Linked DNA regions of Homo sapiens: region 2 is linked to region 1. Evidence: promoter capture Hi-C in 16 types of primary human blood cells and fetal thymus (Javierre and others, 2016). All regions are on one chromosome and are shown on one strand. Each heading gives the region's core, a stretch centred on a gene start or on the middle of the fragment in contact. The rest is flanking DNA. Distances are from core to core; before and after follow the strand shown. Region 1 holds the start of TPP1 (tripeptidyl peptidase 1). Region 2 overlaps FHIP1B (FHF complex subunit HOOK interacting protein 1B).

Region 1 (2,751 bases), core at 1-2,500:
ACACGATGGTGAGTCACTGTTTCCTGCCATGCACACTAGTGTCACACTGCCCCGTCCCCAGCCTCTGCAGTTCACAAGCACACACTCCCCCTGCTGTGAAGGGCTTTAACCAGGAGAAGGAACCAATCCATTTTGACTGTTGGAGAGACTGTTTTGAAGCAGAGTGGGGGAGTACAGTGAGGGGTGGGGTGGAGGGAGGAGACTGCAGATCAGCTGGGGAGCTGGGCAGTAGTCCAGGAGTGGGAATAAATAACGGAGTTGGTCGTAACAAAAGACGGCAAGAAGGAGATTAATCCAAAGGCTCTTTGGGAGTTAGAACTGGCAGCCTTAGTATGTGAACAAAAGAGGAAATTAGAATGGATTTGAGGGTAGGGGAAGGAACGTAAGTTGTACTAGATGCCTGGTAGCTAGTAAGTAGCAGAGTCAGAATTTGAGTTCGTATTTGATCATAAAGCCTGTATACTGAACCACATCCCCTTTTAGGTTTCTAGCCTGAGGAACACAAGTGTCTTGGCAGGCTCTGACATGATCGCCATCCCATGCCCAACCCAGCCCTGTGTCCCTCCACCGCATCCCACATCCTGTCCTCAGTCCCAAAAGGCACCGTATTGAGGAGAGCTGGGATCCGACACAGCCTGCACCAGCTCCGAGAGTCTTTCCACATTCTGCTGTCTCAGGGCAAAGGTGAGACTCAGCTCTTCCTCAGGGTCCGCACGGCCCAGGGACACCCAGCCTGGGGGCAGCCTGTAGGGTCAGGGGTCAGGGACATGGCTTTGGTTAGGGTGGAGATGGAAAATATTGGTCATGGAAGGTTCCAGATTAGGAGCTGAGACCTTGGGGAGGATCCTAGGAGCAGATACAGATCACATGAGGTGAATGATAGGGGACTGAGGCTAGGAACATAGAGATGAAGCTATGGAGTGCGTACTAGGAGCTGGCACGGGGGTGAGAGAAGCTAGGACCAGGACAGTGGGAGGCAGAACAGGGTATGGGGAAGGGGGCAGTCTGTGCTAAGTCAACTCACGTCCTCCGCTGGTCGGGCTCCGGGCTGTAACTGCATTTGCCAGAGAGGATGAGGGCAAAGAGCCCTAGGAGGCTGTAGGGGCAGCAGGTGGGTTTCAGTGGGAGCTACGTTGTCCTTGTGTTCCCACCCTCCCAATGTGTGCTCCCTCCAACGTGATCCCTTTCTCCCGAGCCCTCTCAATTTCTCACCAGGCTTGGAGTCCCATTCTGCCCTTCCGCGGATCTGCTGTCATGTGACGGATCACATGAGCTCTATATTCCACCACCACTACCCCTCTGCCTAGTAACTAGTGACGGTACTGGCTCCTCCCTTGCATGGGTGGTCCCAAATGCTAGGCAAGGGTGGGGCCGCCACCCGGATTCTCCCCTCTGGCCAGTCAAGCACTGAGTAAGCCCAGGGCTCCCCACCTGCGTCCTGAGCCTGGTCCCCTGGGAATCACCACAAGTGAGTGGGCTGTAGAGACCCACAGACTGGGGTTCTTCCTAGCTGTATGACATCAGCAAAATAACCTCTCAGAGCCTAGGTTTCTGCATTTACAATATGGAGACTTATATAAAAGTGATCTGCCTCGAAAGATTGCAGTGAAAAAATTTTTTTCCTCTTTTATCCTTTATGTCCCCATATTATCAATTTTGTCTTCATTTTACGACTACATTTATGAACAGAGTAAAGCTTTTGCAAGACCAGGATCCTTTTATTCAAATCAGTTTCCAGTTTTAAGTAGCTTCCCAGGAGATCTACAATCAGCTGGGGTCCTGTTTATTATGGGTTCCCAAGGTTTTCAAGGAAATCAACTTTGTTCTAAGGGCCATGGAGGAATCTTGCATCTTGTTTAGTGGGCTCAGGTGGATAAAATGGAAACGGACCTTTGCTTCTTCTAATGGTAACTCAAAGCCCACAAGGAGGTCTGAGTTTACTACTTCCAACTGGGGTCATTACAAGAGGATTTTCAATGAGAGTTAAAACCCTGAGGATTCAATTCCCTTCCAGTCTTCCTTTTTTTCCCCCCAAAAATCCATATGGAAGATGGTGTCAGCAGTGTCATTTTAACTTCCAAAACCATTAATCCAATACTCATGTGAAATCCCTTGTTCTGACCTCAATACTTTTTAGATAGATCCCTCTACTCCTGCTGTTGTCCTACAGGCCACTGGCTTCCATTAACCTATAGATTATATTCCCACACTGAAGATTATGGCACTTCACCTTTCTGTCCATCCCAACTCCTGCGATCATTTGACCTAGATGATCAAAATATCTAGGTAAAAGACCCATTCAACACCCTAACCTTCCATTTCTTCATCTCATTAAACCCAGTGAGCATTACCTTCACTTCACTTAAGCAAACCAGTCCCATGGCTGCATTGGGCTTGCTATCTCTCAAAACTGCTCTACCTTTGAAATTATAATTATAGAATGCTTTCTTAGACTATAACCTTCTGTTTTTTCAAGCCATTGTTTTTCCTCACTCCTATTAATCTGACTTCTCTCTGTCCATTGATCCCTCCAGTTTCCCACTAAGCGTGGATCCTAGAGCTGTATTTACTAGCATCATGCTCAGAAACATTTCCCTTTGACCACAACTTTTTTTTTTTTTTCTAATTTCCTCAATCTCATGAACTTCTCAAACACTGGCCAATTGCCTTTCCCTCACAGCCTGGCTCCCCAAAGAACAGGCAACACCAGTGGTTCCCAAATCCCTTTGTATGACTGTGAAAATTTACACT
Region 2 (6,812 bases), core at 2,169-4,668, 400 kb before region 1:
GCCTGGGTTGGGGGGGAGGTGGGCACAAGGATACAAAGCCTGAACACAATGCACATCGCACGCATTCCTCCCCAAAACAAGAGACCCCCACCAGATGAAAAGTATTTGTATGTCAGCCTCTGGGTATGTTTAAATATCCCGTGGCCACCTATTCTGGAGGAAATAAGATGGCAGACACCATATGGACCCACAAGATTCCAGATGCCAGCTTTACACACATTCAAGCTGACAAGCCAGATCTTAGGCTCTGGACTCTGAAAGATCTGGTTTCACTGGCTTTGCCCTTTACTAGTTTGGACAGGTCAAAATTGTCCAAGCCTTAGTTTCCTAGTTCGTAAAATAGGAAAATATACCTACCTCATAAGGTGATGAAGAGGATCAAAGAGTTATCAATATAAAGCATTTAGCCTCAGATCTGGCAAATTTTAAGTGTTCAGTTATAACCATAAGCTACAATTACATATTGTTTTTATAAAAGATTCACCCAAGAGGCACAACAGAAGAACAAATAGGTTGAGAAAGTAATTAGGTCCAAAAAGAATTAGGTTCCACAAAAAACGGAGGATAACACTAAACCTGCTCAGAAAGAAAGCTAGAAGATGGTGTTGCAAAGACAAAGTAACTATGTGAGCCAATTTAAAGTTAGGGAAAAAAATATTTGGAGGACCAGAGAAGACATCAGTTTTGTCTTTCAGAAGCTGGGAACCAAGACGGTGGAACAGAATATGTAGTAAAAGGATAGCTTAGTGCAGGGGCAGAGAAACTGACTGAGGACAGACTCTTTGGTGGGAGAGAAGGAAGGGAAAGGATCAGCATTATCCACTGGGAAAACTGACCTCAGCTAAGCCAGATCACCAGCAGTAGGCCTCTATAACCATCACAGTCCTTCTGATTAGGGATTTTTTTGGGGAAAGGGAGTATATATCTAAGAACTGTACTATGCATTGAGACAGGAGAATGATGGAGGGCAGGAGGGAGTGAATCCTGAAAAAGATGCTAAAACATTTTTCACTCCAGGTGCACATGTCTAGCATTAGCTTCAAAACAACTCTAGCTTAACAGAGTCCTAAGACGCCCCATAATTTTGTCCTGTTCCTTTCATTTCCTGGAAGTTTCTTGGAAAAAAAAAATTGAAAAGCTCAGATAAGTTTACCAAAGGAAAAAAAGACAAAAGCTTCAATTAATACTTCAAGACTGTGGTAAAACCTGCACGCTATCACCTAGTGGTACTGAGCTGAAAGGAACAGAGCAGAGGCTAAATAAATGGAAAGATAGATTTTCTGTAGGAGGCAAGAAGAGGGAATTGGCACAACTCCATGGCAGAAGCCCTGGTGCTGTATGAGCAGGATGGCCAGCATCTCCCAGGCCCAGTCAGGACATGAACTTATCAAGGCATGACAATCTGACTATGAACAACTGGAAGATGAGTGTTTGCCTTAGTCAACTTAAATCTGCTATGTACCCAGAGATCCTAGTGAAAAGCTACCACTTGCTGAGTTCTCACAATGTGCCATAATTGTAGTAAATGATTTATATGCATCTATGGCAGAGATGGGAGGCTAATGTAAGGTATGCCTAATCCAAGGCCTGTGATCTTAGCCTTAGCTACTACTTCTCAGAGGTGGGTTTGTTTTTTGTTTGGTTGGTTTTTTTGTTTTTTGGTTTTCCTGGCCTGAGGTTTAGAATGGCGGGGTAAGCTGGCTCTCATACAAAAACAAAGAGGAGTTAGTCCAACCACTCAGATCGAGTCTAGCTCCAGGGCATCCTTGAGAGTCCAAATGAACTCAGTCAGGGAGCTCAGGGCCACGCTTTGTCATTTGCCTTCAAAGAAATTGCACTCTATCTGCTTAAGACAGTCTTAGTGCTAGCAGACAGTCACAGCAACCAAGAAGGTACAAGGAAAGCGAACAGGAAAAACTTGAAATCAAGTCCTTCTTTGAAGAGGTGGGGAGGAAGGAGCTGAGTAGGGAGAAAAATACCAGAAGGTTAACCTTAGGCCCCAGGAGAGCTGACAGAAAACCCAAGACCCAGACAGATAAACTGGACGGAATGGCATAGAGAGTGTTTAGGTGCCTCTCCATACAGGACAGCACATACGTCTTCAATATGGTTCAGAAATATTGCTGTGATTCACCAGGAAACATCAAACACAGAATATCCTAATTACAAATCGCAGGAAATGGCCAGACTAGGGAAAGAGGAGGAACATGCACATAGGACATACATACAAGGCTCAGATGTAAGTCAATACTCAAACCAGCACAAGCATGGAAGACGTACAGACAGACACAGGGACACAAGTATGACATGACACGTATCTGGAAGTGATGCAAGCAGGATGGATGAGGGGCTAGGCAAGTACACAGAAATGACATGGCCAAGAGGTCCAAGAAACCAGCACAAACATGTCGAGAACATGCAAAGAGTACACAGAAGGGAAGGCCTAGGCTAAGTAGCTTACCAGTGAAGGGCTGGCTTGGCAGCTGGTTGAGAGTCCGCAAAGGGCTGCTGAGGAAGGGGCCAGGGGGCTCAGGGGGACAGGTGAAGCTCTCGTAGGCCTCCTCCTCCTCAAGGGGCAGTGGAGGTTCTAAGGGGGACTCTGAGCCAGTTCCCCCATTGCTCAATGCCACCTCTAGCTCCCGGAGCTCCTGCCCAAAGCCCTCTAGTCCTGCCATGCCCTCGGAGATGCCCTCTAGCAGTTCCCCAGCTCCCTCCTTTGGCACCAGACGAACCTTCTTGGCCCCCTCAGGCCATGATCCTGGCACTCCATTGAGCTGGGGAGGGGGCAGGTGACCAGGGCCCTCCCCTGCACCCCCAGCCCGCCCCCTCCTCCCCAGCTCTTCCTCCTCCCCTTCCCCCACGTTGTTCCTGTCCTCCTCAGGCAGTAGGCTGCGTTTCTTAGTCCGGGAGCCAAAAGGACTGGGCTCAGGAGAGGGCCGCTCGCCATCATAGGGGGCAGACCAGGTACGGCAGGCTCGGACACAGCGGTCCACACCACGACGTGCCTCACGCAGATACTCCAGGTAATTGTCTTCCAGCTCTCCAGGCTCCTCTGCAGGGGTAGGCCGTCGGCCAGGGCTGGAGGCGGGGGATGCAGAAAGCCCTGGTGAGCAAGGGGCTGGGCCTGGAGACTCAGAGCCACCCAGGCTCTGCTGCCGCAGGAAGAGAGCCAGACGAGATGGTGTGGAGGGCCGGGGTACTGTCGTCACAGAAGAGGAGTCCACACTTGGGCTTCCAGGACCTGCAAAGGGAAAAAATATAAGAGAAATCAAGGAGACAGAGGTTCAGAAGGAGAGATAAGACACCTCGGGAGACTAAGAAAGAAGACAATGGGGAGGCAGAAACATGGAATCTATTCAGACAGCTAACTCTCCAACCTCCTAATTAACCTTATCCTCATCCACCACCCCCACTCACCACCATCACCACTGAAGACACAATGGAAACAGGAAGAGTACACGACTAGAGAGAAGAACAAGAATAGCTTTGCCCAGAAGTCCCACTCTAATTTTCTTTGGTGAGTGTTAAGGGTCCTCCCTGCAAGACACCCTCATCAACCTCCCCAAAGACAGACTATCATTCATGGACACCTTCCTCCCCTTCACCCCAGCCCCTCCTTGCTACGCTCCCCCAGAACCTAGGCCATACCCGTGATGTCCTCCCTTCTCCCTGTCTCTCTGCTAGGCCCACCTCGTGCCCATGAGGCATGCTCTGGACGAGGTGGGCTGGGGGCGTGGTGCCGACAACAGCGTGGGATTAGGGAGAGAAACTTGTCAGCTGCTCGTCCATATAGGTCCACATCACGAACAGCCGGCTTCTGGCTCAGCATAACGTGGTTACATGGAACAAGATACCTGAGAAAGACATCAGAAAGGGGACACAGGGTAGATCAGGAAGGAAGGACAGGGCCTAGAGGAACATCAGGCCAATGAAACTGCATGGTTAAGCCAGGCTCCAAGTGGAAACTCATGAGTAACCCCTATATAGCCCATTGCCCCAGCAATGCATAAGACTCTGAGGCTTCAGGGTCAGCCATCCCTCAGCCCTGCCCCAACAGATACCTGAGAACCAGCTGCAGCAGGACATCCTCACAGCTGAGGTTCAGGAGGGTCCTGAAGAGACTCAGAGAGACCATGCAGAGCTGGGGGGGTGGAGGGGAGGGAGGGAGTCACCATAAGAGCTCTCTGCCCTCCAAGCCATTCACCAAACGGGAACCCCACCAGCCCCAAGTTGGCCCAACCAACCACTCCTAGAGGAACTCCTAGAGGACCATGTACCATGCCTGGCACATAAGTCATTCAAGTATTAGCTAGATGATCACACGATCTTTGCGAGCAAGACTTTGCTATTCATACAAATGAAGCATCTCAGACCCAATGGACTTCTATAGACTCTCTAGCTATATATACCTGGTCAGCAGAGACTCCAGCAACACTTGAACGAAAATCCATGAGAAGAGACTAAGAAATACTGTGATTGAGTGAATGACTAACAGGAGACAACAGAAACATGGTAATTAAGTGAATGCCTGCCAGAAGGGACTGTAGCAATACAGTAACTGAATGCCTACCAATAAGAAACTAGAGGGAACCGGGAAGATTCCCAACTGGGAAGTAGGTGGGGCTGCAAACATGAAGTCTGAGTCACCTCTCTAACACTAGTGTATCTCTCAGAAGGCAGGATAAAGAACAACTCAAGCGCAGCTGACAGGAAAAGGAAAAAGTAGGTGGGTCAAGATTAGAGGAAATCTTTTATTTTAGAAAAGGAAGAAGGTTGGTTCATCTCTGACTAGGTAAAGAAAACACATATGTAACCTTTCCCTCACTTCTCTGAATCTTCCTAGCACTTTCTCTATACTTCCCTTACAGCAAGTGTGTCAGACACCTTGAGCTCCCTGAAGACAACGAATGGGTCTTGGTCTAGGGCACTACCTGAACAGTTTAGGCATTCATTATTTGCTACATGACCACGGGAGAATTAAAAGTCAACCACACAGCAAGAAAAACACGTGACAGCAGTTCACATTTTGAATAGCATGGATGTTCAGGAGGCTATCCTAAATGACCACTTTAGCTAGCAATGAAAAAATTCAGACTCACTGAAAAGTAGTAAGTGGGTAGAAAAGTGGTCCCTCAAAGATGCTCACATCCTAATCTCCAGACCCTAAAAATATTTCACCTCACGTGGCAGAGACGACTTCGCAGATGTGAGTATCCTAGATGAGATTATCCTAGATATCCACAGATAATAGAGATCCATAGATATCTATTATCTATGGATGAAGGGGGGCCATGAGCCAAGGAATCTGGTTGCTCTACAGGCTGAGAATGTTCTTCAGTTGTCAACCAGCAAGAAAACAGAGATCTCAATGCCACAACTGCTAGAAAATTAATTCTGCCAATAGAAATAAGGAAATGGATCCTGTCCTACGGCCTCCTGAAAGGAACACAGACCCCACCCCCCAAAATTTTGATTTTAGCCTGGCGAGATCCAGGTCATACATATGACCTACAAAACTGTAAGACAATAAATCTGTTTTAAGCATTAGGTTTGATAATCTGTTATGACAGCAATACGGAATTAACACAGGCTGGTTAGCCAAAATTAGTCACTTCAAGGCACACAAGGCAGGCTATATACGTTACAAAGTCAAGCCAAAGAATCAAGCTTGAAAGGACCACAGTGGAAAGGAAAGCATCTACATGTTTAACACGGGCATCCTGAAATTAGAAGAGATCTGTTCCTCCAAGAACCAGGAACCAAGAAGAAACATCCCAAGAACATGTAAGGCTCCTAAGACCAGGGGACCAAATGGGAGACTAATAGAAACAACTACTAAAAAAATGAAAGATAGTGAGTAAGAATCAAAGTTAGGATAAGACAAAAGGAAGAAACAACAGATAAAACCTCAAAAAGAAAATCAACTGTCTCTAAACATGAACAGGACAATATGAGGCCAATCATGGCCTAATTTCAGCATAATGAGGGAAAAAAAATACTTTTGGTATCTTTGTAAAATTAAAGCTTTAATACCTATTCCCTATTGGTTCCAATAAATCTTAACCCAAGGCATCTATCATGATTACTTTTTGGAAAATTTTAAAAATACACATGTCCTGAGCCTACTCCCAAAGATTCACGAAATCTGAGGTAGAGCTCAGAATCTGTTGTAGTTGTTAGTTGTCATCTTCAAAGATTCACAGACGTTTCTAAAGTATACACTTGGTTTAGAAACACTGGTTTAATCAGTCAGTCTGGAATATTTCTTATACACCCTAACTTAGCTTCAGAAACTGCACCTATACAAAACACAGCTATCCAGGAAACTGACCTGGAACTCTACTATCTAGTATCTCATTATCTAGAAGTTTTCCAGAGCTCTTAGTGATGAAAGAACTTCTATTTTAAACACATGGATCCAGGAAACTTTAACTTATAATAAAAAAAGGAAGCAAAAATGGTCCCAGAGGCAAAATAAATGCCATGAAGTCCATGGCAAAATTAATGCTTTATTCTCCTAGAGGGGCTTAAGTCTTTATAACTTGGAAACCACCCACTCCCATGTTATATATATTTCTATTTGTTAATATCCAAACTTCTTGCCATGGTCTTCCAGGTCATGCATGATCTGAATTTTACCCCTCTATTTTTATCTCATTCCCTTCTTCCCCTTGCTCACTACACCTCTAGTCTTTCATTTCCTCAAACATGTTAAGCTCTTCCCCCATTTGATGTCCTTTGCATGCTGTTCCCCTTGCTTTCCTGTTCTTCTACTTGATCAATAAGTTAACTCCTTTATAATCTCTATGTCT

The links. The method cuts DNA at HindIII sites, captures the fragments that hold promoters and counts their contacts. A CHiCAGO score of 5 or more calls a contact.
Region 2: a contact is called between a fragment that was not itself captured here and the fragment with the promoter of TPP1 in region 1, in 1 of 17 cell types (M2 macrophages). The highest score is 5.1, in M2 macrophages.

Annotation. Positions count from the first base shown.
Region 1 is chr11:6,618,172-6,620,922 of GRCh38, forward strand. TPP1 (tripeptidyl peptidase 1) reads right to left here and starts at 1,251. Exons shown (of 13, transcript NM_000391.4): 1 at 1,213-1,251; 2 at 1,025-1,096; 3 at 605-744. The coding sequence starts at 1,229. RefSeq lists a silencer at 972-1,021 and an enhancer at 1,572-1,621. The HindIII fragment of the contact is 1,700 bases long and covers 1-1,694 here.
Region 2 is chr11:6,214,910-6,221,721 of GRCh38, forward strand. It overlaps FHIP1B (FHF complex subunit HOOK interacting protein 1B), which reads right to left. Exons shown (of 12, transcript NM_001098794.2): 7 at 4,062-4,141; 8 at 3,691-3,854; 9 at 2,462-3,241; 10 at 1-2. Among named protein-coding and RNA genes, the nearest start is that of C11orf42, 13 kb to the left of the region's middle. The HindIII fragment of the contact is 4,493 bases long and covers 1,173-5,665 here.